4 separate regions of the Homo sapiens genome follow, and regions 2, 3 and 4 are each linked to region 1. Evidence: promoter capture Hi-C in 16 types of primary human blood cells and fetal thymus (Javierre and others, 2016). All regions are on one chromosome and are shown on one strand. Each heading gives the region's core, a stretch centred on a gene start or on the middle of the fragment in contact. The rest is flanking DNA. Distances are from core to core; before and after follow the strand shown. Region 1 holds the start of PRR19 (proline rich 19). Region 2 overlaps LNROP (long non-coding regulator of POU2F2). Region 3 overlaps POU2F2-AS2 (POU2F2 antisense RNA 2). Region 4 overlaps POU2F2 (POU class 2 homeobox 2).

Region 1 (2,700 bases), core at 201-2,700:
TACATGGGAAGGTCCCACCTGGAGTGAGGCTACAAGAACATGACCAGGACGTTTAGCAGGGAGTGAGCCCCCCACCTGGTCCCAGAGAAGAGGGAGATCTGAGAAGACACTGAGGTCTGAGATTAATTTGGGGCAGCGTTGGGGGAGAGGCGCGACCCTAGGTGGCCTTGGCTATGGATGTAGGTTTCAGAGCTCAGACATACCCAGTTGGCCTGTGGGTTTAGAGAGAGTGTAGAGGCTGCAGATCTGCAAGATGATCTGCCGGAGGGACGCCAGACTGGACCTGAGCCCTGGAGGCGTCTCTAATTTCCTTTCTCTTTCTGCACCTTCTTCTACCCTCCAAGCAGGTCCTATGGTGTCTTGAATGCAAAGATATGTAGTTTATATGTTATGCCACGCGCGCGCACACACACACGGTGTTTTGAGTAGGGGTCCTGTGATGTCTTGAATGCAAAGATATGTACTTTAGATTTCAACACACACACACACACACACACACACACACACACACACACACCCACGGTGTTTTGAGTAGGGGAAGCCCACGAGTAGATAGGCTCACTAAAGCCCTGGCGCGGCCTTAGAGTGGCTCCTTAGAAGGGAGCCTCGAATTTTCACATTTTGTCATCTTCCTTTTCTGTCCCCCACATCAGTAGAAAATAGGAGCGTCCCCCCCAGCCAGGTGCATTCGAGCCACCCCTTCAAGGGAATATAAGAATGGACTCGTCCACTCGCTCCCCTCCCCCCACCACGTGAATGGGTCACCCCCCCCCCCGCAACAGTAGGTGGTCCCTTCCGCACATTTCACTCTGTACAGCAAATGGTTTCTTCCCATTTGCTAGACAGAGGGCTAGATTTTCCCCGCCCACTCTCGACTCTTCAGGTAGTTCGCCCCTCCCCGTGACCGGTGGGTGGTTTCTCCCTCCTCCCCGCCTCGGGAGCTGGATGGTCTCGCCTCTCCCTCCCCCCACCCCGTGCCGGGTGCGCGGCCTGGGAGTCAGCGGCCCGAGCGGGAAGCGCCGGGCGAGCCCACTGTGCGGCCGTCGTGGGGGAAGCGAAGGTTCCTGATTCCACCTACCTCCTAAGTGAAGGCTTCCGTCCCTGGAGAGGAGGCGGCGCCCTGTATCGGCCTTCGTCCTCCGCGGGTGTGCTAGCGTTGGGACGGTCCTTTGTTGCCGCGAGGGGTAGGAGTGGGCGTGGCGGAGCCAGCTCCGTTCGGAACACTCCCGGGCCGACCCGACTCGCTCATCCTGCAGGAGCTGCGGCGCCAAGATGAGTGGAGAGGAGAACCCAGCCAGCAAGCCCACGCCGGTGCAGGACGTACAGGGCGACGGGCGCTGGATGTCCCTGGTGAGCGTTCCCACCTGGGATATTGAGGAGTCCGGGGGCGCGGGGGGTGGCTCAGGAGAACGGCTGGTTCGTGCCACTCTCACTACCTGATTGGGAAACTGAGGGCAGTTGAGGAGGCGCTGCCTAAGGGAGCAGGGCGGGGCGGGCCCTGGAGCGTGCATGCCATTGACTCCCTCTCGCGCGCTCCCGCAGCACCATCGGTTCGTGGCTGACAGCAAAGATAAGGAACCCGAAGTCGTCTTCATCGGGGACTCCTTGGTCCAGCTCATGCACCAGTGCGAGGTGAGGGCAGTCCCTCTCCCCCTGCCCCATCCAGCCCTGTGTCCATGCTGACACATCTGGACCAGAACCCAGGCCAGGTGAGGTATTATGAGAGTACCCAGATTGGCCTCAGGCAGCCCGAGGCTCTGAGAATCTTGGTGTAAGGTGCAACATTCTATTGAGAAAGAAATGTATGCCTTGGTTTTATCAGATTGGATTTGTGTATAATGTACTAAGACCTAAAATGAGGCTTTCCTGCCATAGGCTTGCCTAAAGTGAGGCTCTTTCTTGTTTGCTTTAAGTAGTGCGCAGCCCTGTTGGGTTTACACAAAGCTATAGTCACTTTACAGGAAGCGAAGGGCAACTCTAATGGCACTCCACAAAGAGGACTCAATCATAATAATATCTTTCCACAAAGCATGTCCAACTGTAATGGGTTTCATCAAAATAAGTTTCAACTGTAATGCCATTGATTCAATGCATGGCTCAAGCAGACTGGATTTTCATGAAGTGAGTCTTGCTTCTATGGGGCTTGGTTTGTTTTGTTGGTTGGTTGGTTGGTTGGTTGGTTTTTGAGACAGGGTCTTGCTCTGTCACCCAGGCTGGCGTGCAGTGGTATGATCTCTGTTCACTGCAACCTCTGCCTCCTGGGCTCAAGTGATCCTCCCACCTTAGTCTCCGAGTAGCTGGGACTACAGGTGCACATCACCATGCACCTGGCTAATTTTTGTAATTTTTGTAGAGATGGGGTTTTGCCCTGTTGCGCAGGTTGGTCTTGAACTCCTGGGCTCAAGCAGTCCGCCCACCTCAGCATGAGCAACAGAGCCTGGGGCTTGGTTTAAAGTGAGAGACTCTAGGCAGGGTGTGGTGGCTTACGCCTGTAATCCCAGCACTTTGGGAGGCCAAGGCAGGCGGATGACCTGAGGCCAGGAGTTCGAGACCACCCTGGCCAACATGGCGAAATCCTGTCTCTACTAAAAATACAAAAATTAGCTGGGCATGGTGGCACATGCCTATAGTCCCAGCTACTTGGCAGGCTGAGGCAGGAGAATCGCCAGAACCTGGGAAGCAGAGATTGCAATGAGCCGA
Region 2 (2,700 bases), core at 190-2,689, 160 kb after region 1:
GTGTGATCTCAGCTCACTGCAACCTCCGCCTCCTGGGTTCAAGCGATTTTCCTGCCTCAGTTTCTCAAGTAGCTGGGACTACAGGCGTGCGCCACCATGCCCAGCTAATTTTTGTATTTTTCAGTAGAGATGGGGTTTTATTGTATGTTGGCCAGGCTGGTCTTGAACTCCTGACCTCAGGTGATCCGCCCTCGTCGACCTTGCAAAGTGCTGGGATTACAGGTGTGAGCCACCACACCCGGCCAGTTAGTCTTCTTTTATCTTCTTTGAGCCACATCACAGTGCTTCTTTTCTTACATGAGGCGAACTGGGAATTCTGGTGGATGTGGAAAATTGGCTGTGGTGGGGAGATATGATGAGGAATGTTTGTATCCATGTGAATTTGTTAAGCATCTGCTGACTTCTGGTCCACAGACCTTGCTTCTTGGAAGATGCTGCTTCCTGACTTTCCCCCTGGAACTGACCCAAGTGTCTTCCCCCTGCTTCCCTTCTCACTGTGTCTTTCAGTGATGGCCTCGCATCCACCCAGCCACCCCAGCCCAGCACCCACTTCTCATATCCTGTTCCTGTAGACTCCAGCTTGAATATGTATCCTCATCCTAATCCTCATGGCTCCTTTCTCCCCTGCCGCCTTGGACCACTGTCCCAGCCTCCCCATTGGTCATCCTGTCTCCAGATTCCATGCTACCAGCCGGTCCCCACATTTGTCCCCAGTAGAACTTCCTTACACAGAATGCTTCTGCGCAGAAGCCTTCCACCTGCAACTTCAAATCCAACCTCAAAGGAACTTGAGGACAAACTTGGGAAAGCCAAGTTTGTCTCCACCTTGGGGTCTTCAACCTTGGCAACCCCCTTGAATGCTGTTTCCCACCTCCTGCCCTTCCTTTCATCCTTCAGGACCTCAGGTCCTACCCTGATCTTTCTTACCTGAGCTTAAGCTCTTCCACCTGCCCCAATCTTCTGTGCCAGGAAAGATACTTTAACATACCTGGACCTCATTCTTGACTTCTCCGTGACTCCCATGCCCCACATTCAGCCAATCACCAATTATTGCTTCCTGTCATCATCACCTGATGGTGATGTGGAATTCATCAGCTTCCTCACGCTGACCCCCACACTCCATCCTCTGGTTCTTCACTGCGGCCTCCAAAGCAGCCAGGATTGTCACAAAAGTGTTCATAGAACCATGCCACTCCCCTGCTTGAAACCTTCTCAGGTGTCCCACTGTTCTTGAAGTCCCAAATTCTTACCTTGGCCTGCAAGGCCCTGTGCGATCTGGCCCTGGCCGCCTCTCCACCTCACACCTCGTCTCCTATCTTCTCTTCTTTGTTCACTCTGCTCCAGCTCTATAGGCCTCCTTTCTGATCCTGGAATTGCCACACTGTTTGTTTCCATGGGGCCATCGCCTCCTCTGTTCCCATTGCCTGGAGTGTCTTCCTTCACATTCTTTGCCTCGAGAATACTGTGTCTAATTGCTATGTAAATGTCACTTCCTTGGGACAGTTTTCTGCAACATGCCATCCTTTGTTTACATCAGGTATCCTCCTTCTACTTTTTTTAAGAGTCAGGGTCTCTCTCTGTCACCCAGGCTGGAGTGCAGTGGCATGATCGTAGCTCACTGCAGCCTCGACCTCAAGCAATCTTCCCGCCTCAGCCTCTCGAGTAGCTGGGACTACAGACGCACACCACCACACCCAGCTAAGTTAAAACAATTTTTTTTGTAGAGATGGGGTCTCGATATGTTGTCCAGACAGGTCTCAAACTCCTGGTGTCAAGCAACTCTCCCACCTCAGCCTCTCAAAGCGCCAGGATTACAGGTGTGAGCCACCATGCCCAGCCCCTCCTCTACCTATTCTTGAAATCACTTTTCCTAACTTAGAATTACATATTTATTTGATGGCTTTTTATTTTTTATTTTATTTATTTATTTATTTATTTTAGAGATTGAGTCTTGCTCTGTCACTCAGGCTGGAGAGCAGTGGTGCCATCATAGCTCATTGCAGCCTTGAACTCCTGGGCTCAAGTGATCCTCCTGCTTTACCCTCCAGAGGAGCCAGGACTACAGGGGTATGCCACCATGCCCTGCTAGTTGATAACTTTTAAAAATTATTTCTCCCCCAAAGACTATAAGCTCTATGGGTTGCTTTTAACCACTGTATTCTCTGAGCTTAGCAATGGCTTGGCACATAATAGCATTTATTGGATATTTATTAAGTGATAAATTACCAAGGTATTTTTATCCACTCCAGTCTTCCTCTCAGACTGTTAGCTCCTTGAGGTCAGATTTTAGATCTAGCTCACCTCTGGGTCCTCAGCTCCCAGCACAGGGCTTGGCACTGAGGGACATGAGGAAATGTTTGAATTGAAGGAAATGGGGAAGGGTTGGCCCACCTTCAGCCAGGAGCTGATGGGATCAGGAGTCCAGTGCATTGCCGAATATCAAGAAACTGACTCGAAGGCTGTGGGCGTTGGACTGTGAGCTGCAGAGGTATTCCAGCATTGCTGACTGGACAAGGAGTGGCTGGCTGTTGCTGTTGTCTCCTGAAGGATGGGGAGCATTTCACGCCTCCAAGAAGGAGCTCCATGGCTCAGTACAGAGAGATCAAGCTGTCAGGGGGACAGACCTGGGCTTAAATCCTGACTCCACCACTCATGCTGTGTGACTTGGGGCAGGAGACTTCACCTTTCTGAGGCTCAATT
Region 3 (2,700 bases), core at 180-2,679, 150 kb after region 1:
CTCGCTGGATGTGGAGTCCAGATGTGAGGGTCTGTTTAGCATTCTGGGGTGCTGGGAGGTGGCAAGAGATTGCTTGATCCTTTTGGCTGCCTGTGCTCTGTCACTGGGTGGGTGGAGACAGCTGTGGACTGGGAATATTTGTCAGCCATGGGGTGGGGATTATAGATGTGTAGGAGGTAAAAATGGCTTGCATCTCTGAGCCAGTTCGGGGACCAGTGGGTCCCTGGAATCCCTGACAGTCCCACAGCAAATGAAGGTCAAGTACCCACCATCCTGGTAAGCATGGAGCCCCAGGTGCCGAGAGCAGGCACTCGGCTCTGACTTCAAATAGAGAGACGTTCCTCAGGGCTCTTCGAAGCACTGGTGAGGGCTGGTAGGCAGAGAGAAGGCCTCAGAGAACGGCCCTGGGTGTTTTCAGCTGCGCTTGTTAGAAATCTTGATGCGCGCCCCACCCCCACCCCGTGGTTGTTGGGCTCACGCTGCCCTGCCAGGTCTCTGCCCCTGGCTTTCCTTCCTTTCCTCTTCCTCTCCCTTTGGCTCCAGCCCCAGCATCATCTTTCTTCCTTTTCTTAGTCTTCATTATGTGTCTTGGCCTCTCCATTCCTCCCTGGTCAGCTCCTTTTTTTCTGAGCTGGATCTCTGTGTTGAGTGTTGCCTGTGGGTTGAGTCTTAGCTTTTGTCTCCAGAGAGAGCCACACTGAGATCTGGAGGCTGGGGAGATCCAGAGATCCGGCCTGGGGTGGGTGTGAGGTGGGGTAGGAAAGAGAGGAGGATAAAAGGTGATTGAGGGAAAAACAAGAAAGGAAGTATTCACCCACTCCTAGCACTCCAGGACAGCTTCTGAGGTCCTTTACACAGTGATCCACCCTTGCTTTTCTCAAACTTTCAAGCAATCCTCCTGCCTCAGTCTCCTATGTAGCTGGGACTACAGGCTAGGACCACTGTGCCCAACCTTGCTTTTCTTGGGGACGAGGTGGATAGGAGGGCCAGAGGGATTGTCTAAGAAAGGGGAATCCAGAATACACCAGATGGGAGTGGAGGGAGAGGGAGACCCAGGGAGCATGCACCTCATGACAGAAACACAGAGAGGGGAACAGAGCAACGGAGAGGAGCAAAGAGGAAGAGGAAACAGCAGAAAAGTCAGAGGCAGGAAAGCAGAGTGAGGGACTCAGAGACAGAAAGGAACAGAGAGAAAGAGAGGGCGCGTGCATGCGAGCTGAGCGCATGAGAGTGCATCAGAGAAAGATGAAGGCAGCCGGGCTGAAGGCAGGGGACAATGAGAAAGAAAAAACAGTGCGGGGCAGCTGCAGCTGAGGCAGGTGGGCAGGACTGTGGGGCAGGAAGGAAGGACCTCACACCTGGCCCCCCACCCCCCAGGCTGGCCATGCCTGGCAGAGTACGAGGAAATTGGCCAAGGCCCTGGTGTGTGTGGACTGTGTGTGGAGGGTGAGGTGGCGGTGTGTGGTAAGGAGGGATGTACTGCTCTCCCTACCCATGTGATCAGGTCCCAGTCGGCTCTGGCTGGTCCCTGAAGCTACCTGAGATCATCCCTGTCCATTCACCCTGTCCCCTCCCCACCGTGGCTCACAGGGGCCCAGAGGAACGTGGAAAAAGGCTTGAGCATCCCTGACTTCTGGCCTGGGGAATGGGGAGAAAGGTGTGTGTGTGTGTGTGTGTGAGAGACATCACTTTGGACGTGATCCCCTTTCAGTTTCTCTCTAGCTTTGCCATCTCAGAGTCTCTAGTGGGTTACCAACTCCCCTCCACCACTATCTGCCGTCTGCCTTTTATCTCTCTGGTCTCCTTTCTCTCTCACTCTCACTCAGCCTTTCTGTTCCTCTCTGTGCATTGCCCCCTTTCTAGTTCTCCCTGCCTCTGGCCCCCGTTCTCTCTTTATCTGCGTCTTCTCTCTGTGTGGCTCCATCACTGGGTTTTCTGCTCTGTTGTGTGCTCTTTCTCTGTTTCTCTCTCCGTCTCTCCAGTCACTGTCTCTGCGTCTCTCTCTGTCGTGCTCTCTGCATTTGCCCTTCCTCTGCTCTTTTTCTCTGCCTTTGCCTCCTGGTTTTGGTGTCTGTGTCCCTTCCAGTCTCTTTCATCTTCTGTCTCTGCTTCTCTGTGCATCTCTCTGCGTGTGCCTCTGTCTCTCACTCTGCCGTTCTCTTTCTCTTGTCGTCTCTCGGGGTCTCTGGCTGTCCATCCCTGCCTCTGTTTGTGTCTCTCTCGCTCCCCCTCCCTGTCCCCCCCTTTTTTTCCTGTTTCTAACACCCACACTCACATCCTACCTCTGGAGTAATTGCTTTTGTCTGGGTTGGACTGGACTTGTGGTGGGGGGAGGGCGGGGGGAGCGGGTGGCGCTGGGGGGGTTGGGAGGGACGGAGGTCGCTTGGTGGAGTTGAGGTGGCATCCACCAAAGCAGGGGTGTTGAGGAGCAGAGGTACAGCCTGCCCAAGGTGCCGGGGGAGGGACGGGGGCCTGGGCCCATCCTGGCAGGGGTCTGGGGTCTCTGGCAGGGAAGGGAAAGAAGGCAGGCAGGCCCTGACATTGGGATTTGGAGATGATGTAGTGATAAAACCGGCTAGCCAGTGTCTCCGTGGCAGCCCCTGCTGCCTCGCCACCCTCCCCCACTCAGAGACTCAGGGTTGTAGCCTCTACACACATACACCGTGCCGTCTACACCAAGTCACCATGACACACACAGGG
Region 4 (2,700 bases), core at 117-2,616, 200 kb after region 1:
GGTGTGATCTCAGCTCACTGCAACCTCTGCCTCCTGGGTTCAAGTGATTCTCCTTCCTCAGCCTCCCATGTAGCTGCAACTACAGGCGCCCGCCACCACACCTGGCTAATTTTTTTTCTGTATTTTTTTGGTAGAGATGGGGTTCCACCATGTTGGCCAGGCTGGTCTCAAACTCCTGAACTCAAGTGATTCGCCCGCCTTGGCCTTCCAAAATGCTGGGATTACAGGCATGAGCCACCGCACCCAGCCAAATTTTAATTAATTTATTTTATTTTATTTTGTTTTTTGGAGACGGGTGTCTCCCTTTGTTGCCTAGGCTGCAGTGCCATGGTGTGATCATAGCTTACTGCCACCTCAAACTCCTGGGTTCAAGGGATCCTCCCACCTCAGCATCCTGAGTAGCTGGGACCACAGGCATGCACCACCATGCCTGGCTAATTTTCCTTCTCCTCCTTCTCCTTCTCCTTCTCCTCCTGCTCCTCCTCCTCCTCCTTCTCCTCCTCCTCCTCTTCCTCCTCCTCCTCCTCTTCCTCCTTCTCCTCTTCCTCCTTCTTGTTTTTTTCTTTTTGTAGAGACAGGGTCTTGCCATCTTGCCCAGGCTGGTCTCAAACTCCTGGGCTCAAAAGATTCTCACATCTAGCCTCCCAAAGTGCTGGGATTATAGGCATGAGCCACTGTGCCCAGCCAGTTTTTATTTTAGATTCAGGGATACATGTGTAGGTATGTTACAAGGGTTATATTGCATGGATGCTGAGGTTTGGGGTATAATTGTTCCTGTCACCCAGTAGTGAACACAGTACCCAGTAGGAAGTTTTTCAGCCTTTGCCCTTCTCCCTCCCTTTGGAGTCCCTAGTGATGATGACTATAATTATGTGATTGATTTCATTTGAAATTCTATATATCTGGCTGGACATGGTGGCTCACACCTGTGACCCCAGCACTTTGAGAGGACGAGGTGGGTGGATCATCTGAGGTCGGGAGTTTGAGACCAGCCTAGCCAACATGGTGAAACCCCTTCTCTACTAAAAATACAAAAATTAGCTGGGCATGGGCATGGTGGGTGCACCTGTAGCCTCAGCTACTTGGAAGTCTGAGGCAGGATAATTGCTTGAACCCGGGAGGCAGAGGTTGCAGTGAGCCAAGCAAGACTGAGCCACTGTACTCCAGCCAGGGTGACAGAGGGAGACTCCATCTCATCTCAAAAAAGAAAGAAAGAGAGAGAGAGAAGGGAAAGAAAGAAAAGAAAGAAAAAGAAAGAAAGAAGAAAGAAAGAAAGAAAGAAAGAAAGAAAGAAAGAAAGAAAGAAAGAAAGAAAAAAGAAAGATCCTATATATCATATGTTATGTGTTTTTAATTCTGAGAAGAGGGCAATAGGTTTTTTTTTTTTTCAGATGCTGAAGAATTCAGGGCACAAAAACATTTAGACCTCTATTGTTTTAGACCCCTCTCTGCCTGCCTGGGGGCGAATGGATGGTCTGGGGTAGAAGGATGGTGGTTTGGACCAGGACAGTCACTGTGGACAGGAAGAGATGTAGAGGGAACTGGGAAGACTTGCATTGCAGATGGATTGGATGGATGGGGAGAGGAAGGGAAGGTGGGATTAAGGCTGACCCCTAAGTCTCTGGTCTGAGAAACTAGACAGGGATGTGATTAAATGTTTCCCATCTGAACTTCTCACCATGAGACCTTCTGCAAACTGGGATGCACTTTCCCCATTCTTTCCTCTCGCTGGTGATTCAGAACGAAACCCACAGACACCTCTCTAGGCTTCTGGAGGAAAGGGGAATTTTCATTGAGAGTCATGCTAGGGAGGAACAGGAGTTAACAAATACTTTAATCAACAAGCTAAGGGTTATAGGAAATCAGAAAAATGCTGGTAATAAGACTTGATTTCTAGTCTTATTCATTAGATTCAATTCAGTGGGCATTTAATGGGGGCTTACCAGGTTCCGATATGAGTTAGGGATATACGAAGAATAAGATATGCCTCTGGTCTGCTAGAGTCAGTCTGGCAGAGGAAAAGTACACATAAGCAAATGCATTGACTTGGGAGACGTGTAGCACAGGGCAGGTGGGTCTCGTTTTGTGGGGCCAAAAGATTATGCAACTTGGAGTCCCTTTGAAAGAAAAAGACAATGTTTGAAACAAAAATTAGGTATGGGGCCTTGAAAGGGTTCACTGTAAATGGGGGGCCCTGAAGCATAAGTGTTGCCCGCTTCACAGTTGATCCACATCTGGAGGGAGGTGACCATGGAGGTGTTACTGGGCTGGGGGTAGCTGGGAAAGGGAAGGCAGGGTGGACATTGTTTCACAGGATAGAGTGCTAGGACTTCAGAACCCTTAAGCTGGATTCTGAGATGATTAGCAGCAAGAGTTAGAGAGGTCAGGAGCACAGGAGTACCCAGTCCACTGCCATACACGGAATAAGCAGAGGCACCCCCAGGGGGTCAGGGAATAGTGTTCAGCTGTCGAAAAGCAGGGATGTTGATCAGCAGTGACTGTTTGGGTGGGTGGGGGTGAGACACTGGGATATTTATTTACTCAGACCAGGTACATGTTTCAAATCCCAGAGGTATGAATGGATTTACAGCGTGGCCTTCTGGTATGGTTTTCCAGACATCAACTATGCATACCCAAGCAAATATCCAGATATACTCTTTTTTTGTGTGTGACACAAACAGTACCACCTCATACCCTCTG

Evidence for each region. The method cuts DNA at HindIII sites, captures the fragments that hold promoters and counts their contacts. A CHiCAGO score of 5 or more calls a contact.
Region 2: a fragment that was not itself captured here is called in contact with the fragment with the promoter of PRR19 in region 1 in 16 of 17 cell types (total CD8 T cells, naive CD4 T cells, naive B cells and 13 more); the score reaches 22.1 in total CD8 T cells.
Region 3: a fragment that was not itself captured here is called in contact with the fragment with the promoter of PRR19 in region 1 in 11 of 17 cell types (naive B cells, total B cells, neutrophils and 8 more); the score reaches 14.2 in naive B cells.
Region 4: a contact is called between a fragment that was not itself captured here and the fragment with the promoter of PRR19 in region 1, in 17 of 17 cell types (naive B cells, total B cells, naive CD8 T cells and 14 more). The highest score is 35.1, in naive B cells.

The regions. Positions count from the first base shown.
Region 1 is chr19:42,300,882-42,303,581 of GRCh38, reverse strand. It overlaps PRR19 (proline rich 19), which reads right to left and starts at 1,450. Exons shown (of 3, transcript NM_199285.3): 1 at 1,079-1,450. PAFAH1B3 (platelet activating factor acetylhydrolase 1b catalytic subunit 3) reads left to right here and starts at 958. Exons shown (of 5, transcript NM_002573.4): 1 at 958-1,350; 2 at 1,543-1,632. The coding sequence starts at 1,273. RefSeq lists a silencer at 844-1,063 and enhancers at 617-1,271, 1,224-1,353, 1,434-1,483. The HindIII fragment of the contact is 26,667 bases long and covers 1-2,700 here.
Region 2 is chr19:42,136,579-42,139,278 of GRCh38, reverse strand. LNROP (long non-coding regulator of POU2F2) reads right to left here. Exons shown (of 3, transcript NR_038332.1): 3 at 2,180-2,607. It also overlaps a transcript of POU2F2 not described here. Among named protein-coding and RNA genes, the nearest start is that of MIR4323, 4.4 kb to the right of the region's middle. The HindIII fragment of the contact is 4,330 bases long and covers 1-2,700 here.
Region 3 is chr19:42,153,741-42,156,440 of GRCh38, reverse strand. It overlaps POU2F2-AS2 (POU2F2 antisense RNA 2), which reads right to left. Exons shown (of 2, transcript NR_186341.1): 2 at 1-734. It also overlaps a transcript of POU2F2 not described here. Among named protein-coding and RNA genes, the nearest start is that of POU2F2-AS2, 2.6 kb to the right of the region's middle. RefSeq lists an enhancer at 919-1,447. The HindIII fragment of the contact is 3,776 bases long and covers 1-2,700 here.
Region 4 is chr19:42,104,615-42,107,314 of GRCh38, reverse strand. The region is part of intron 5 of POU2F2 (POU class 2 homeobox 2); the gene reads left to right. Among named protein-coding and RNA genes, the nearest start is that of POU2F2, 26 kb to the left of the region's middle. The HindIII fragment of the contact is 5,797 bases long and covers 1-2,700 here.